Regions from separate parts of the Homo sapiens genome. Here region 2 is linked to region 1. Evidence: promoter capture Hi-C in human tissues and cell types (Jung and others, 2019). All regions are on one chromosome and are shown on one strand. The core of a region is centred on a gene start or on the middle of the fragment in contact, and the rest is flanking DNA. Distances in the headings are between cores, read along the strand shown. Region 1 holds the start of RORA (RAR related orphan receptor A). Region 2 has its middle 160 kb from the start of RORA.

What was found. The method cuts DNA at HindIII sites, captures the fragments that hold promoters and counts their contacts. A contact is called where the count stands out against the background at its distance.
Region 2: a fragment that was not itself captured here is called in contact with the fragment with the promoter of RORA in region 1 in 2 of the 25 tissues and cell types used here (heart right ventricle and pancreas).

The regions. Positions count from the first base shown.
Region 1 is chr15:61,224,983-61,231,604 of GRCh38, forward strand. RORA (RAR related orphan receptor A) reads right to left here and starts at 4,320. Exons shown (of 11, transcript NM_134261.3): 1 at 4,071-4,320. The coding sequence starts at 4,236. The HindIII fragment of the contact is 14,135 bases long and covers 1,004-6,622 here.
Region 2 is chr15:61,384,055-61,390,676 of GRCh38, forward strand. No RefSeq gene overlaps it. Among named protein-coding and RNA genes, the nearest start is that of RORA, 160 kb to the left of the region's middle. The HindIII fragment of the contact is 4,527 bases long and covers 109-4,635 here.

The DNA of each region.
Region 1 (6,622 bases), core at 3,070-5,569:
ATTCCAGCAGGTGACTAACATTAGAAGAGTCTCCTATAGATGTTTTGAACCACTCAGGACTTGAATTCTAGATTAATAATTCAATTTTTTTTAAGAAATAAGGGGGAAGCAACAGAAAAGGTTATCATAACTATCATCAAATGCCTTTTCTATAATTATTATATTACATTTTTAAAGGGTATTATTATAAATGTTTTTATGAGCAATTTACCGGAAAATTAAAGTCCTTTAGTTTAAAAAATAATTATTTTATCCCTCTGGCAAAGGCTTTTCTCCCAGTCAGCAGCTCTTTCAAACTATGGGGCATCATTTGTTCACTGTGGCGAGCCGGGTCCATGTGAGGAAAGTTGATCTGAGAATCAATCTCTAGAAAGGGCGCTAAATTGCTAGGTAAGAGCACCTACTAGAAAGTGAATCAGCCAAAACTGAAGGGGGCAAGAGAGGCCACGCACTTTCAAAGTCAAAGACGTATGTGGTTCTAGAAGTCCTCAGGGCTACACATAAACTACAGGCCCTGTTAACTGATTTTAAGTCAATCTAAGCTGAGCTTCCAGGGGGTTCGATCTCAACCCAACTGAGCTTTTCACTGTTAATCCCATCTTTTGGTTTCGATTTTTCCCTTAGGTCTGCCGGCCCTAAAAGCCTTCAACCTTCAGCACTGGTGTTCCAAACCAACTGTGTGGTGGTACACAGCCCTGTGTGGATGACTTCACTGAACTAAAATATGTAAGCTTCTGGCAAGCACATATAATAACGAGATTCTGAAAAAGGGTTTTTAACAACAGTTATGTCACGAGGCTCATGGCTCCCTGAAGTCCCTGAAAGCCTTGTTAAATTAAAGATTCGCTGTGGTTTTTTTTCCGCTTCATTCCTACTTCCCTTGTCGCTTCCTGCCTTTCTTTTTTCTCTTTCATTGTGTTGTTAAGATGGAACTGAGTGACACCAGCTATCATTAATATCACCTAGAAAATGGAAGAGTTTCATTAAAACTGCTAACATTCCCAGCAGTTTTATGGACAGGGGAAGGTCGTCTTTCAGATTATAAAGTCACACACCTGATTTTGTAAGCTCAGGCAATAAAGGTACACAGTGCATCCACACTTGGATTCCCAAGAGGGAGGAATTCAACAGTAGCCTCAAGTCTACCTAGGTAATGTCTCATGAGGTCACTGCAATGTCATGAGAATTCAGACCACAATTTCTGTGGACTTCAAACACTGACTGGGTAGAAGCTAAACCTGCTACCCTTTGGAAAGTATCTCCCAAATCAGAAAGCTTCCCATTTCACCCAATGCCAAGAACTCCACTCCACCCTCCTGGAGGTTGAAAATGCTAATCATAAGGTGATGATGTTTGCTTTTCCTTTCTAGTTGTGTGCCTTTATGTTTTAAGTATTTAAAAGGCATAATCACCTAGTGTGTAGGTTAATTTCTTTCCGATATTGTAATTTATGCAACATTAATACTGGATGCCAGCTCCAATTTTCTTACTGCTTACACTCTGGGAGCCGGCTTGCATATTCTGCCAACTCCATTACATCATCTGAAAACCCAAACATTTCCCATTTTCAAATCACTCTCAACTACCAGGCATACTTACACATTCTCTCTTTTTCTCCCTAGCTCACACACATAAAGATTGGTACCCCTGAGGAGCAGATGCTACATCTGAGGTTAAAGTCTGCAAATGCACATAATTTCTGGAAGCTATTACTACTGCTGTGTTAGCTAAAGGATGCCTCCATCTCTGACCTTCCTTTTTCCATTCAGACTGTTATATAACCTAGTGCCTGCGTGCAGGATGTGAGTTGAGTGTTTGGGCCTTACCACCCCCCTCCCATTAAATCTTCCAGGAGGGACAGACAGGGGCTGGTTCAAAGAATGAGTTGGGGTGGGGGCAGAGGGTGGGGGGAAGGGGATATGGGTCAGCAGGTCAGCTGTGCAAGATGTATCCCACTCCTACTATGCCCCTCTCCCCTTTTTGCTGAGCCTAAGGGGGCTGGTGGCACTGAATGCTCCGGCGTTACATAATTTGCAAGAACAGCAAGTTACGGATTTGCTAGTCGGCTCTGCAGCCTGCCACCCTGATCGCTTGCAAGAACACCTTCTGGCAAGAATGACACCTGAAGATGTTAATAACACAGGGTGTGGGGGGGTCAAGAAGGAGAAAGGTGGCAGCACAAACCAAAAATTAGTGCAGCTTCCTAAATACTATGTCCCCCCCATTCCAAAAAAAAAAAAAAAGCCCCAGAAACACATGAAGGGGATTTTCTCCAGTGTTTCTGATTAACCCTGTTACATAACCCGCTCGCATTCCAAATCCACCGTCTCAGGGTCTAAATATACTCTTTGCAGCCAAAAGCTCCCCGCACACAAACTCACCGAGCTAGCGGCAGGTCCAGGCCCCCAGCCCTCATCCCCTTCCCTTTTGTCCCAGCCCTCGCCGCCCCCCTCCCGCTGAAACCGCGGTTCGCCGCGGTCACCCTTTGGAAATCGCCTTTAATTAAATGTTTTTCGCGTGTGTCATCCTGATGGCTTTTACTGTACTCGAATTCCGTGAATGGGAAAGCGCCTGGACAGGGGGTGTGGCTAAGGTGGGGGGGGGGATACTGTAAAACAGCCAGCACATGATCAGCCATATTCCTACCTCCAACTACAACATCGAGAGGAAGGGAGCAGTTCCTGGGGCCCCCATTCGCCTCTACCCAGCCCTCCCCAACCGCCGCCAGAAGCCGAGTGCAAGAGGAGGGGGCGCGCTGGGCCGGTACCCAAGCCGGGGCTGGAGAAATCCTCTCCGTCCCCAGCTCCAGGCGGCTCGCGCGAGCACGCTTCCTCCGGAGTGACAGGCGCGATTTATACATTATTTACAACAGTAATTAAAGCTGTAGCTTCCTCCTGTTCTTTGCAAACTCCAGGCGCATTCAAATAAATAATCCCCCACTCTCGAGAAAAACACACATCAGGTTCCAATACCTTCAAGAAAGAGTGAGCTTTCCTCAACAGCTCACTTTAGGAAAGGAGGGAGCAACTGAGTCCCCCCCATCCCCCCCAACACACGCAGACACAGACCAAACACCAAAATGAAGAGTAAAAATCGCCAGGGGAGGAGAAAACATTGCTTGCACTATCCAACCAGCATACAACTTGCACTGACCATCCCCAGGTTCCTGCAGAAATGCTTGGAACCTCCGAGAGGGAAGGATTCCCAGAGCAGAAATAAGTTTCGGTGCTTGCTTTTGTAGACGCTCCCTCCGGATGCGCGTGGAGCGCCCCACAGGACCGCCGCCCTCTGCGCGTTGGCGCGCACACGCCCCCCGCCAGCCTGGGCGCCGGGCTCCGAACCCCCGGTCTGCAAACTTGCGCATCTCCCCTCGCCGCGCCCGCCAGACAACTTGGCGAACAGCTCGCCCGCCCGCACCCCGCTTCCTTCGGCCCTTCCTTCAAATCCCAAACGCACCGCCGTGCTCCAAAGAAGGTGTCCACGTCGCCCCCAGACCCCGGAGCGCCCCCTCTCCACCCCCGGGACTTCCCAGGTCGCTCACTCCTCCCGCCCCCCGCCCAGATCTGAGAGGGACCGAAAACACACCCCCGACTCGGGCAGCCAGGGCCGAAACTGTCAAGAGGAGAAAAGGTAAAGCGGAAGGAGGGTGGCCATAAACAGATTTTTTTGCCCCTTCTTAAAAGGACACTGCCGCTTTAAAAGTTTCTTTCCCGGGCCCCCACTCCCCGCATCTCCGTATTTTGGGGGAGCGTATTTAATTGAGGCAACGCAGCTTTCCTCCAGTGTTTGCAGAAAAATCAAAGCCAGGGGGGTGAGCCCGCCGGCTGTCAACCTTCCCGCCGCCTCCCCCGCCCCACTCTGCTCCCGCAAGCCGAGAACGGGCTGCAAAAGTTTGCAACATTTCTGGGGGGCGGAGGGGGGAGGGGAGGGGGGTCCTCCGGGCTCGGGGCGCCGCCGCAGGCTCGCGCGCGGCCGCCGGACCCCGCGCCCCGGGCGCCCGCTCCCGGCCGCCCCCCGCTCCGCGCCCGGGCTCCCGCCGCCCCCTCCCCAGCCCCTCTCCAGCCTCCTACCTCTGCTGGTGCTGGAATAGCTCTGTCTGCGCACCGGGGCAGGCGGCTCGCTCTTGCGGGCGGATTCCTGGTTCAGCGGGGTCTCCCTGGAGCCGGCGGCCGCGTCCGCGCCGCTGCTGCCTGGCTCGCTGGCGGCGGGGTCGGGGGCTGCCGGAGCTGACTCCATGTTTTTTCCCAATGTAGAGATCGCTGGAGATGGCGAGCTCCGAGACTCCCTCTATCTTCTGTTTTCAGAGCAACTCTATGGTACCAAAAAAAAAAAAAAAAAAAAAAAAAAAAAAAAAAAAAAAAAAAGAAGGAGAAGGCGACCGGCGAAAGCAGGAGGGAAAAAGCAGGCGGCGGCGGGCGGGCAAGCAAAAGCGCGAGGGAGCGCGCGGAGTGTCTGGGTGGACGTGTGTGTGCGCCCGAAAGGGGACAAGAGGCGGGTCTGGCCACAGGCAGCGCTAGCGAGAGCTTCTCCAGCCGGCCCCCACACCCACATTCCCCACCCTCCAGACCCCAGACCGAGAGCCACAGACTGGCTGCCAATTTTGGGAGGTGGGGAAAAGAGGGGAGGAGGAGAACAGAGCCTCCCGCGCCCCAATCCTCCCCTCTCCCCAGCCCAGGGACAGAAATTAAAATCGGTGAGATGATTCCGTGCCTACTTCTGAGACTCTCTCGGGAACAGAACTCGTCCCCATCCGCTGCCAGCTTGGGTAGAGACAAATCCGATTGTCCACGTCCACGTTGGGAAATCGCAGGTAGCCCCCTGCCAGCCCTGCCGAGGGCTGAGGAGAAACTAAAAAGGAATTAGAACGGGGCTGACATCCCAAGGAAGGCGGAGGATGGGAGGACGTGGCACTTTTTACTTTGGGATGGGACGGCCAGTGGGTTTCCAATCTTGGTTAAAGACATCTGTGTCTAAAACAGATTTTGTGAATCTAGAAGCGCCATGGACAGTTTCTGGCATGGTTGAAAGAGGTCGCTTTCAGCTCCTTTGCTGTTTGTCCGCGAAGGATCCAGAAACCATTTGGCAGGGCATTTTCTACTGAAGAAAACTTTGGCCTGTTTGGTCGACAACTATCTAAGCTGGATAAAACATGCCACGCTGCATCTAGCTCAAGCGTGGCTGCTAATTGTCAATTCCCACTGGTACTTTTCCTATTAAATGTACAGTCTCATCCATAAAAGGTAGATATACTGGAGAGGCATTACTAATGCCCGGATAACATTCAGATAATTAACAGCTCCTAATAATTCGTATTATTATAGGCATCATTCTACACCCTCCTCCCATTGAAATACATTCATCCCCTAGTAGGTACCTAAAACTCCAGGAAAGCAGATAATTGCATCATCGTTACCTTGACTGCAAACTCCAAGATGAAGGAACAATACAAATTGAAAGAATGGAAAATACTCCAATGGTAGTAGCCTGATTTGTCTGCCTTCATACTCAATCTACCACTTTCTTTTGCCTGCGAAGACACTGTGGAAATACGCCCCACCTTCCTTTCAAAAGGATCCAAAATTTTGACAATAAATAATATTATTAGAGGCCAGAAGGTGGCATAAATATATGTGCTTCAGAACGTGGGGTAGGCGGAGGGAATTGGGGGACATTTTTCTTTTGCTAACTTCCTGGTTTGGAAAAATGCTTTAAAAAATAGTAAGTGCGGGAAACCCAGTTAGCTAATCCTTCAGAGGAACCGCCATATGCCAAATTTCACACATAGTTTCTGTTACTGTTACTGATCTTGATCTTATTTCAAATACACAATGCCCTTTGCCATAGTCTGTGTACTAATCAGCAAAACCTGTGGTCCACTCTTCGGGGTGATGTAAATGAGATGTGAACAGTCCTGATACCTTAATCCTGTCTCTGCAAGGATCCCTGGCTTTAGCCTGTCTGTTGGCGCCTACAAACAATGCACAATTGTCTCCTCCATCCCAAATCAGACGTGTGGGTTTCCCCATACGTGAAAGCACAGATTTCCAGAGTAGCCTTCACAACATTTACCATTGGTTAGCCTGTTAGTAATGTTCTTGATGCAATTGACCTAGCTTGTTACACTTGACTTTTCTAAGGAAACAAATATATCAAAGTGTACAGTTTAAGAAACAACTTCCTCTGGGACAGTGAGCATCTCAGAATACATTGGCTGCCTCATGTTTATTTTAGAATACTTTAAAAAATACTCGTCACATTAAATTTCACCAGTAATTCTATCTGGGACGCAAGTGACTTAAAAAGTATCCCTGGTTTCCTTTTAGGTACCAGTAGCAACTTGTTAACATTTTTTATTAAGTCTGTTCCCCTTGGACCTTTAATGAGTTTCTTACTGTTCTCCTTTAACTAAGGTGATGTTTAGTCACCCTGAAAAGACCATCTAGAAAATAGTCATAATGACCTGAATCAATTAAAATAGACTCTATATTCCCTTCAGAAAAAGATCGCAGCTCCAAAAAGCCATTTCTCCTAACTCTCTAAGACAATTACTGCTTCTGCAATTTAAAACAATTGGGAACTCAAGTGCTTTCCCCAAGGGAAAAAATAAAAGTGAGTTAGATAC
Region 2 (6,622 bases), core at 1,122-3,621, 160 kb after region 1:
TTTGAAAAATGAAGATCTGATAGTGTGACTTCCTAAAACTTTTAGAATAAAGACAAGATTCCTTTGCATGACCACCACCTTTCTTTCCTGACTTATGTGACATCATGCTTCCTTCACTCTTCCAGGTGGAGCCACATGGGCCTTCTTTCATTTCTTTCTTTTTTTTGAGACAGAGTCTGTCGCTCTGTTGCCCAGGCCTGAGTGCAGTGGCGTGATCTCGGCTCACTGCAAGCTCTGCCTCCCGGGTTCACGCCATTCTCCTGCCTCAGCCTCCCGAGTAGCTGGGACTACAGGCGCCCGCCACTACGCCCGGCTAATTTTTTGTATTTTATGTAGAGATGGGGTTTCACCATGTTAGCCAGGATGGTCTCGATCTCCTGACTTGGTGATCCACCCGCCTCGGCCTCCCAAAGTGCTGGGATTACAGGCATGAGCCACCGCGCCCGGTCAGGCTTTCTTTCTTCCGTTTCTTAAATTGGAGTTGTCTTATACCGTTTTGCAGGTTTTGCAATGCACAACACTAAGGGGCATCAGTTAACATCACGCACATCCAAGAATTCAACAATCTTCTGGCAGCTAGCAATAAAGTGTCTGGGGAAAAAAGGGGCGTATTTTTCTGATTTTTCAAGGGCATCACAAAGACCACTATATTTTTATGACCATGAGGCCTTTGAATATGCTGTTCCATTTGCTCAGAGTACTCTACTTCTTTTGGTTCAGTTTTCTTGTATTTGACCTTCAAACGCTAATTCAAGCTTCACTTCCTCAGGAAAAGTCAATCTTCCCTGATTCCATTACTCCATAAAATCTTTCTATTATATGCCCAACATCCCTTCTTCACAGTGCCTGCCACAGTTAATATTTTATCTTTATTTGTAAGTCAAATTTATTATTTTATGTTTATTTATATTATTCGATTAATGTCTGAATCCCCCCGGACTGTAAGCTCTGTGCAGAGAAGGATCATTCCTATATTTTATTCACTGTAGTGTCCTCATTACTTGTTGTCAATAAACCTGGGTTGTATGCTGAATAAATAGACAGGGTGGGAAACATTATCCCAGTTTTACAGATAAGAAAATTGAGGCTTACAGATGATAAGTGAGTTTTCAAGGTCATAGAGCTACCAAGAGGCAGTGCCAGGTCTCACATTCAGGTTTCCCAAATGTACAAGTTTCTTTCCATGAAGGTTGTTCCTTTGAGTTCAGGACGGACTAGAAAGGTCTGCCTAAGGGGAACCGTATATAGTAGGAGAGTCTGGAGGATGGTTTATTCTCGGAAGGGTGTTATGTCTGTAAACTAAACAAAGGAACTAAAAGAAAAACAGACAAGAAGAAAAGACCATGGAACCAGATGGTAGATCCAAATGAGAGGTGGGGCAAGGGAGGGCTTACATGGGAGATGGGCAGCAGACTTGGTGGCCAGGAGGATTGGGTAGAATGAGGATTGAAGAGTAGGTGTAAAAGAGGTTAAGAGATTGAGAACCTGACCCTCAAAGACTGGTCTCTGGGCACTTGTTTTCAGAACAGAGGCATCTCCTTAGGAAAATAAAAGCTACTTATAATAATAAAAGTAATGATAATGGTCATTTATTAGATACCCTGTGTGTGTGTAGCCTTGTGTTAGATGCTCTACCAATGTAAATTTAGTTGGTCCTCTAAGCAGACTGGGGAAGACGCTAGAACCCTGGCTTGTCCTTTTCTTCTATTTGTTTTCACCATTCTAGTTATTAAGTATGTAAAGTGTTTCTCACTTCTTGTGTTTTTCTCACTTCTTGTGTTTCTCTCACTTCTACTTTGTCTCCTAGTCCCTACCCTCCCTCCCATCCTTTTTACAGCCAGGGGTTGGGCCTCTGATACCCTCCATGAAATTCCACTAGGTCTGTCTGTCTTTCTCCACCCTCTTTCTATTAAATTAATTGCCATTAAGGTTTAAATGACTAGCAGATTCTTACTCGATTCTGATTCTTATCTCTCCCAAGGACAAATGTATAATAATATTCTTAGAGAAATATTTAAAGTATTCTTCTAACCAAGTAAATGGATCTTTAATGATACTACTTAAGGCAGAGATGCAAGATATTTTTGAAGGGTGAAAAGATTTACTAGACATTTGAAATTACATCCATACCTGGGTCTCCACTAATTCCACCTTTGGAAGATTAATTCATTCTAGGTGTTCTAATCCTCCCCATCCCTTTTCCCACCTCTATGTTAAAATTCTATGACTTCACATGCCCCGTGGCCAGATAGAAACAACTTCTTTGTATATCGATAGCAATTCTCTCCACTGTCAACTACATCTCCCTGCACCCATGGGATCCCTGGGAAATGAGAAAGCTCAGCTGTCTCCAGGGTGTGGTGAATTAGGGCAGTTGTTCTGTTCCCTTTTCTACTGTAGAATGATTGGGATAATTGGGAGAAAGGTGGTTAGATGGGACTCACTTTTTGAATTTGTGTTATACACACAGCCAAGAGCTGTTAGAGATCTTCTGACAGTAATGACTAGTCAGTTTCTAGTTCTTTGAAGGTGCATTTGGGGTTGGCATGTGACATGGGGGGCTTTTTCTCCAGCCACAGTTGAGCCTTTAGGAGCTCCATGAAGAGTTTAAAGAAGTTCTCCAGGATCTGTTTCCATCTCCTGTAGAAATCTTTTCATTCTCATACGGACTGGGGTTCCTGGTTTCTGACCTGTTACTTCAACCCTAGATTCTGCCTCCTGGCTCATATCCCACATATAAACATTTCAGTTGAACTGTCTACTTGGCTTCTGATTTTGATTTCACTAATGAAGGTCGCCTCTTGGGCCATCTTCTTTTGTATTCCCTATAGACCCAAAGATAAGTCTCCCTATACCCTCTGCCCATTACAAGCTTCTGGGATTCTACTGTTCTGTGCTCCCACTTACCTGAGAGGAGAATTTTGATATGACTATTAAATGCCTTGCTTTGCCCTCAGACCACAATTAAGAATTGTTTAGCCAAGTGATTTTAACAAAGGTTACAATGAGAATGCTGCTTAAGCCATTATCTTATGGGTACTTCTTGCTCAGCCTTTCTTCATAGACAAATGAGAATTCAGAACTTGTATCCCAGGGCTTCGGCTGAATATGGGGATGTGGTGCAATGAGCCCCCTGAACTCGGGATAAAGGTGAATACCATGAGACAGAGTGTGTCCAGCAGCAATCAAAGTAAAAAAGCCAAGCTGTTTGGATGATCAAGACGAAAGTCTGCATGGCTTGGCCAAGGAGAAGAATCCAGGTACTAAATGATGGAACCAGAGGGTACCTTGTCAGAGAAGAAGAGACTGGAGACCAACCTTGAGTTTGCTGAAGGAATCTCTAGCCACTTTTTACAGGGTGCCTGTAGCCTCAGTTATAGATGTACAGACAGCTGAGTTAAGGGGCCAAACTGGTGTAAATAGATATGTAGTAAACAGATTTATACATTGTAGCTTTTCAACTCTGGTTCTTATTAGAAAAGTTCTTATTAGGTACCCAGTATGAGTGTATCAGTCAGTGACTGCTGTGTAATAAACCAACTCAATGCTCAGTGGTTTAACACAATTTGTTTTATAAATTTATAGGTAACATTATTATAACCCATGTTTCTAGGGGTTTGTTGCAAATTGGCTAATGTAGGCTGGGCTCATCTGGGTGGCTCTGGTCATCCTTGTTGGGCATACTCATGTGTCTGTGGATTGGCTGGGACAGGAAAGTGGTAGAGCCTCTGCTCTAAGCTAAGGCAACTTTGTTAGGAAAGCTCCACTCTTCAACTTAGTTAAGAAAGCTCCTCCTGAGAATAGCAAGCTAGGCCAGCATGTTCTCACAGTGATGCCAGAGGAGCAAGAGCAGAGCAGAAACACATAAGGTCTCTTGAGGCCTCTTCTAGGAACTGGCATAATGTTACAATCTGCTGCATTCTCTTGTCCAAGGTATACTTTGTGATCAAACCCAAATCAAAAGTCAAGGGAGTACATTCTGCTCACAGTGAGAAAGCACTGTAAAGATAAATAGCAAAGAGGGTAGAGGCAGGAAGGGGAAATAACTGAAGAAAATAACTCATTCCATAAAGTGTGCTAGGCACTCATTGAAGAATGGTATGCTCTTAGATGCTTTATCATCATATGTACAATGGGTAAGTATTTTGATCCTGATTCTATAGAGCTCAAAATGTTTACAACAGTCATTAAGGTAACACGTCAATTAAGTGGTAAACAAATTTCAACCCAGCTTCTTATGGTTCTAAATTTGAGATCTTTCCAATATGGGATAAGAATTCACCAACTTATCTGCCTCCATTCCAGTTAATTTTTATACAGAGCATACATACAAACACCTACGTTATATGTGACACTTTAACAATTCAACAAATAAAATTAAAATAAAAATGAAAGTTAAAAACAATCCTTATTTTATTGTATGTTCTTCCTATTTGCCAGTATATTAGTCTGTTCTCACACTGCTGACAAAGACATATCTGAGACTGGGTAATTTACAAAGAAAAAGAGGTTTAATGGACTCATGGTTCCATGTGGCTGGGGAGGCCTCACAATCATGGTGGAAGGCAAAAGGCACATCTTCCATGGCAGCAGGCAAAAAGAGAATGAGAACCAAGTGAAAGGGGTTTCCCCTTATAAAACCATCAGATCTTGTGAGACTTATTCACTACCACGAGAAAAGTATGGGGGAAACCACCCCCATGATTCAATTATCTCCCACCAGCTCCCTCCCACAACACATGGGAATTATGAGAGCTACAATTCAAGATGAGATTTGGGTGGGGACACAGCCAAACTATATCAGCCAGCAATCTTCCTGAGTCTGTTAAAATTTTTTGTCACTTATTCTTTGCCCTTATAATATTCTAGAAAGTTTAACATTCTGTATTAATAATTGTTCCTGCCATTTATACATATAGAGTTGGTATTTAATATATTATAACATCGAGCTCATTAGTAAGGCAATTCTTTCACGTCATGAACAAGCATTCCATTACTTAAAACAAAAAATTCTAACACCTTAGCACTAAGTATAGCAATTTGCTTTTGTGATGTCCCTTTAAAACATGTTCGGAGGGTTTATTTAAAGTTCTTGTGCCAGAGTCAGGCCTGTGAAATGTGTGATGACTATGGTGGACTCAGAGAAATGAAGGCCTGAATCATCATGCTGGGGCCTCAAAGGGATTATTCCTATAGGCAAATGAGCTTTATTTTATACAGATTCAAAAAAAAAAAAATGTAGGTTCTCATGACTATGCCCCAATATCACTGTTGGAAAGGGATCTTGCTAGTTCTCAATTGCTTAACAGACATCTGCTGAGAAGCAACACGATGAGGAATCTTCACGGCCCCCATCTCACCATGTCAAGAAACTACGAAGAATCGCTGCTGACCAGGCCCCCAGCTAGTCTGTGAATTCTTCCCAGGTGAGAATTAGTACCACACCCATCAGTTACAGCAAGCCTGATCTCTGTCCTCTCCATCAGCCTGTTTTAAAGCCTAAGACCAGGACAAATCCATTCTCACTTTTGAAAAGGGGAGAATTATTTATACAATGACATTCTGTGGGTGGTTTGTGAAGAAGGCAATACAAAGAAGAGAATATGTCTCTTCTATGTCTTTGTCAGCAAACTGAACTAAGAGTCAAGAGACGTGGGATCTGGTTCTGGTTTAACTACTAACCAGCAGTGAAACCTTGTGTGCACTACAACCCCTTCTTTAGCCTTAGGTTTCTCATCTGCCAAGTTTGAGAATAAAAAGTCAACATTTTAGAACCAGACAGTCCTAGGTTCCAGCTCCACATCAACAGAGAGCTGGTAGTTCTTGGTCATATTACTTAAGCTCTTAGATCCTGAATTGTCTCATCTATTTAACAGAGATAATGATCGCTACTTTCCTTTCCCTGGAGGGCTGAGAAAAACTGTTGGTGCTCAATAACTGTAAATTTGCTCCTCCACTTTGATCACTCTCTAGCTGTACTGTTGTGGAATTCCAAAAACTAGACTATTGATGATTTGAACAATTCTTTTTTTCTGTGAGATATGCCCTCCTAATAAGTTGCTGATAATAACACATCACTATACAGCTCTTTTCAAGACATTTTTCTGTCATACTCCATTCTATCAAAGTGACAAAAGACTTACATTCTTATTGTCTTATTTCCCATAGAAATAGTCTCAAACCAATGGGAGAATAATGGAAATTTTTTCAGTCCTGTGATCCCTCTACAGGTTCTTCCTATGCTTACATTCTCATGAAATTGCACAAGATCACACACAGCAGGTTTCACAGTCATGAAACTAAAAGCCACATTAAACCACAATGTGATGTCAGTCTTGTCTACCACTCACCATCTCACCTCAAAAACAAGTAGGAAAGGTCACATTTGGAGAAGAAAGCTTTATCTTCCTTTTTCCTCTAGTTATTAAGTTTACTGAAAGTTTTAGGGGAAAGGATTATTTTTTATTTTAATTCTGAAAAATGAAATACATTTAAGGGGTTTGGTTTGCCTGACTTCCCTTCTATCTCTCTGGATCCCAGTGGTTTGGGGAGCTATGGCAGAGAGGCACATGTGAGAGCACATACATCAGCCTGAATATACACTGAATATACACCAGTCTGA